Regions from separate parts of the Homo sapiens genome. Here region 2 is linked to region 1. Evidence: promoter capture Hi-C in 16 types of primary human blood cells and fetal thymus (Javierre and others, 2016). All regions are on one chromosome and are shown on one strand. Each heading gives the region's core, a stretch centred on a gene start or on the middle of the fragment in contact. The rest is flanking DNA. Distances are from core to core; before and after follow the strand shown. Region 1 holds the start of TIMM17B (translocase of inner mitochondrial membrane 17B). Region 2 overlaps ZNF630 (zinc finger protein 630).

Region 1 (2,700 bases), core at 45-2,544:
GTCTGGCTTTGCACATACATTTAAAATTTGGTGATGACTCTTTGAACGACACAGCATTTCCACAGAGGAGCTCCAGTTGGGTGGGGTGGAGGGTGGAAGACAGAGGCCATGTTTGCAATCCCTACAAAATCCCAGATACAGGAGCCAGGCTCGGCACATAGTAGGTGAGTGGGCACCAGAATGAATAAGTGCACGTGACTGGCAGCTCCAAGCAGTTTTCAGAGCAGCCTCCCTTGTGGGCAAGATAGCTAACCCCACACCAACCCAGGGAAGGCCTGGACTCACAACAGGGGCATTGCGGAAACCCTTGATGGCCTGGAAGACTCCGCCACCGATGACACCCATAGTGAAGGCTCCACCGCAATCATCCACAATTCGCCATGGGCTGCAAGCAGGAAGGGAAGGACGGGGTTAATGTGAGCCCTCCCCCAGGTCCTGTCACACGAACTCTTTTCTAACTGGGAGAAACCAAGTCACCAGAATGGGAAGTTCCTAAGTAGGAACAAACACTTCAGATAATAATGAGCTAGTTCTGTCACGCTTTTTCCACACACCCCCCCATTAAAGCGAGAAATGGGGCAAAGGGGGAGAAATATTAGTCTTCGCCCTGTCTACCAACCAAGGAATCAGCCAACGGTTTTACTGTGATCAAAGATTAAATGAATTGGCACACGCAGAGTTGACGTTTCAATAAGCGACATAGGCGTGTTAACTAGCCAAGACAGACTGTCAGCAAAGCAGGACCGCGTCGCACCCCTTCTCCGACGGTGAGCCCGTCCAACCATGCCCCGCCCCTTTTCAATCCGGCACAACTGGGAAAAACCAAGAGCGACCGCGGGAAGCATCCACCGTCCCCGCCGGCCCTCAACAGGTTCATCCGTGCCCCGCCCCCCACTGACAAAGGCGACCTGGGAAAAACCACTGGCGGCAACTCTGGGGATTTCCGGTCAACACCGTACCACCCCTAGCCGGGATGGATCGTCCAGCGTGTCTTTTTTCGTTAACAGGGCTAGGAGATTACGAAGTCAGGAGAAACATGGCGTGGTTCGGCCTTCGCCGCACCTTCTCTGGTTGTGGCCCCTCATAACGGAGCCCGAATGACAGGAACCGAGTGGGGGTAGCGGGAGATACGTTAAGAGTCCCCCGAGTCTGGTACATGGCTCTGTGCGGCCGATGCCTCCCCCGCCCGACCCCCACGGCTGGCCTTGGCGTCGCAGCAATATTCCGGATGCCTGTGCCCATTGCCGTACCAGGGCTCCCGAGCGTACTCCTCCATGGCGCTGGCGTCTGGCCGCGCAGTCAGGCCACGCCCCCAGCGTAGACGCACACCGGCGTCGGAGCTTTCCGCCTATTACCGGGCAGCGATTGGGTCGCTATACCGCATGTCACGCCAAGGACGCACTCTCATTGGCCAATCGAGTTTCTGCCATTTGTTCATTGCCTCCTGAGCGTAGTCCAGTTACTTTCAGGCTCGGGGAGTGAAGGCCTCGTTGAGAGAAGGTCTCATTCGGTGTTTTGGGAAGAGAGTCGTGTGGGCCCAGGTATCGTAGCGGCGACACGAGAGAGACGGGCGGTGTGACAGCCTTCCACTACCTGCACGAGTGTATTGGTAACGTTGGGGTGGGTGCACTCTTTTGGAGCTGGAGGAAGTGCTGCCCTCTGCTCCCCCATCCCAGCGCTTTGGTTTCTCCCACCCGGCAGTCATGGGGACGCTGGATGAGCCCATTTCTGAAGTGCGGAGGGGCCGGGCTTCTTAGGCTGTGGGCGGAGCCTGGGCCTGGGAGAGGAACAGGGCCCTGGAGCACCTGGTTTCGGGGACAGTAGGGTTGGTGGGAGTTGCGATGATATTGCCACCTACCTCTTACATCTTTTAGTGCGTATGTTCTGTCCACCCAGCTACTGGTTCATTTGAGTAGATCGGAGTCAGATGAGTACATGTTTACGGGAGGCGCTTGGTTACGGGATCCAGATAGGAATCTTTATCTGAGCTGCTTGTCAGTTTGTTCGTCTGTCCCTAGGTCTGTCTGCTATCAGCTATGCCGCTGCCCGTTGCGCTGCAGACCCGCTTGGCCAAGAGAGGCATCCTCAAACATCTGGAGCCTGGTGAGACAGCTAAAAGCAGATGGTCCTAACACGTGCCAGCCTCGACAGGCACTTTTGTTGTTGATACTGACGCTTGATACCTAGCATGGGCCAACTGTGCACCAAGCAATGGGGTGGCAGGCATTTTTCGTTGTTAACAATGTGGATTCCTGACATCCATCCCTACCGCGTGTCAAGTGGAGGGGGTTGGGGGAATAGATATTTCATTCTTTTTTTTTTTTTTTTTTTTTTTTTTTTTTTTTTTTTTTGAGGCAGAGTCTTATTGTGCACCCAGGCTGGAGTGCAGTGGCGCGATCTCGGCTCACTAAAACCTCCGCCTTCCAGGTTCAAGCGATTCTCCTGCCTTAACTTCCCGAGTAGTTGGGACTACAGGCACGCCCCGCCCCACCACACCTGGCAATTTTTTTTTTTTTTTTTTTGAGACAGAGTCTCGGTCTGTCGCCCAGGCTGGAGTGCTGTGGCGTGATCTCGTCTCACTGCAACCTCCGCCTCCCGGGCTCAAGCGATTTTCCTGTCTCAGCCTCCCAAGTAGCTGGGATTACAGGCACGTGATACCACACCCGGCTGATTTTTGCATTTTTAGTAGAGACGGGTTTC
Region 2 (2,700 bases), core at 38-2,537, 830 kb before region 1:
ATATGTGAAAAGATGCTGAAGCTTATTTAATCCCTATAGAAAAGCAAATGAAAATGAGATATAATGCTTAATCATAAAAACAACAAGAATGAAAAAAACAGATGATGGCTAATGGTGGCAGGAGGGAGGGGGAACCTTGGGAAACAGGTGGGCTTTCTTGTAAACAATTTGTGGCCACATGTTCAGCTGATTACACAGTATTGAAATACAATTTGGGCTGGGCAGGGTGGCTCATGCCTGTAATCCCAGCACTTTGGGAGGCCAAGGTGGGCAGATCACTTGAGGTCAGGAGTTCGAGACCAGCCTGCCCAACATGGTGAAACCCAGTCTCTACTAAAAATACAAAAATTAGCCGGGCGTGGTGGCAGGCACTTGTAATCCCTGCTACTCCGGAGGCTGAGGCATGAGAATCGCTTGAACCTGGGAGGCGGAGGTTACAGTGAGCTGAGATCATGCCACTGCACTCCAACCTGGGGGACAGAGTGAGACTTTGTCTCAAAAAAATATATATATATACGATTTGAAAAATACTCTTTAAATTTATAAGTCTGTGTGCCTCTGACCTAGCACACTCATGTCTGAGAATGTGGCCTACACAAATACTTCACAAATATAAAAAGATATCTTTATATGGTTGTTTTATTTGTGACTTCACTGCTTGAGAGGTCTGGTTAGGTCATGTACTAGCTGTGTGATCTCTGTGCCTCATTTTCTTCATCTGAAAAATGGGAATAACAATGGTACCTAGCACAGAGGGTTCCTGGGTGAATTAAATAAGTTAATCCCACGATATTTTATAATAGCAGTGCCTGGCACATGATAAGCACTGAGTAAATAGTAGCTATGATTCTTCTTATTATTATTACTACTGTATATAAAAGAAAAACTAGAAATAACTTTTTTACAGCCCATCAACAAGGTTCTGGTATCCTGCAAACATTAAATGGACATTTAATGGACATTAATTTGACAATGTACATCAGTAGACAATGTAGATCAGGACATAGCAAACTATAGCCTGCAGGCCAAATTTAGCCCATCATGTGTTTTTCAATGGCCCACAAGCTAAACTGGTTTTACACGTTTTCTTTTGAGACAGTCTTGCTCTATCAGCCAAGCTGGAGTACAGTGGAACAGTCTTGATTCACTGCAACCTCCTCCTCCCGGGCTCAAGTGATTCTCCTACATCAGCCTCCTGAGTAGCTGGGACCACAGGCGCATGCCACCATGCCTGGTTAATTTTTGTATTTTTTTGTAGAGATGCGGTTTCGCCATGCTGCCCAGGCTGGTCTAGAACTCCTGAGCTCAAGCAATCCGCCCACCTTGGCCTCCCAAAGTGCTGGGATTATAGGCGTGAATAGCTAGCTGTATCTGGTCTGGTTTTTACATTTTTAATGATTGAAAAAAAAGTCAAAAGAAGAATATTTTATGACACATGAAAATTATATGAAATCCAACCTTCAGCATCCATAAATAAAGTGTTATTGAATCACAGCCAGGCTCATTGGTTTACATATTGTCAATAGCTGCTTTCTACCTAAAACAGCAGATTTGAATAGTTGCAACAGGGGCCGTATGGCCCACAAAGCCTCAGATACTTCGATCTGTCCCTCTACAGAAAAAGTTTGCTGACCCCTGACTTAGAGGAACTGGACAAATTACTTGAAAATTACAATTTACCAAACCAGACATAAAAAGAAATAGAAAATCTGAATGGTAGTATATCTTTTAAATAAATTGAATATGTAATTTAAAACCTTCCCACAAAGAAAACTCCATACCCTGATGGCTTCACTGGGGAGCTCTTTCAAACATTTAAGAAGGAAATAGGCCGGGCGCAGTGGCTCATGCCTGTAATCCCAACACTTTGGGAGGCCGAGGTGGGTGGATCACCTGAGGCCAGGAATTCGAGACCAGCCTGCCCAACATGGTGAAACCCCATCTCTACTAAAAATACAAAAGTTAGCCTGGGAGGTCAAGGCTGCAGTGAGGCAAGATAGTGCCACTGCACTCTAGCCTGGGCAACTGGGGTGAAACCCGGTCTCAAAAAAAAAGAAAGAAAGAAAGAGAGAGAGAGAGAGAGAGAGAGGGAGGGAGGGAGGGAGGGAGGAAGGAAGGAAGGAAGGCAGGCAGGCACTTGTAATCCCAGCTACTTGGTGGCGGGCACTTGTAATCCCAGCTACTTGGGAGACTGAGGCAGGAGAATCGCTTGAACCTGGGAGGCAGAGGTTGCAATGAGCGGATATCGTGCCATTGCACTCCAGCCTGGGCGACAAGAGTGAAACTCCATCTCAAAAAAAAAAAAAATTTAAGATGGAAATAGTACCAATATTACCCAAATTTTCCCAGAGAATATAAAGAGAATACTTTCCAACATGAGGCCAATGTAACATGATACCAAAAGGTGACAGAAACAATAGAAGAAAGTAAAATTACAGGCCCTTATGTCTTATGAACACAGTAGTATAAACCCTAAACAAAATATTAACAAGGGATTGGCTAGATCATGATGATGATGACGATAGGAGTAGGTGGGGATGAAAGATAGATAAAACAAGCTTGGTTATCAGTTGATAATATTTGCAGATGGGTAATTACAAAAGGGTTCACTAAAATCTCTACTTTCGTATATATTTTATATTAGGCAAGAAAAGAAAGTAGCAGAACGGAATAGAAACAGTGTGTGTATTTTTTGTGTGT

Evidence for each region. Contacts are between HindIII fragments. The CHiCAGO score rates a contact against its expected background, and 5 or more counts as called.
Region 2: a contact is called between a fragment that was not itself captured here and the fragment with the promoter of TIMM17B in region 1, in 1 of 17 cell types (neutrophils). The highest score is 5.6, in neutrophils.

The regions. Positions count from the first base shown.
Region 1 is chrX:48,896,474-48,899,173 of GRCh38, forward strand. It overlaps TIMM17B (translocase of inner mitochondrial membrane 17B), which reads right to left and starts at 1,295. Exons shown (of 6, transcript NM_001395498.1): 1 at 1,251-1,295; 2 at 286-385. The coding sequence starts at 1,276. PQBP1 (polyglutamine binding protein 1) reads left to right here and starts at 1,457. Exons shown (of 7, transcript NM_001032382.2): 1 at 1,457-1,609; 2 at 2,019-2,103. The coding sequence starts at 2,037. RefSeq lists enhancers at 811-960, 991-1,190, 1,481-1,850, 1,901-2,120. The HindIII fragment of the contact is 9,862 bases long and covers 1-2,700 here.
Region 2 is chrX:48,063,391-48,066,090 of GRCh38, forward strand. The region is part of intron 2 of ZNF630 (zinc finger protein 630); the gene reads right to left. The region is part of intron 1 of ZNF630-AS1 (ZNF630 antisense RNA 1); the gene reads left to right. Among named protein-coding and RNA genes, the nearest start is that of ZNF630, 6.9 kb to the right of the region's middle. The HindIII fragment of the contact is 2,537 bases long and covers 20-2,556 here.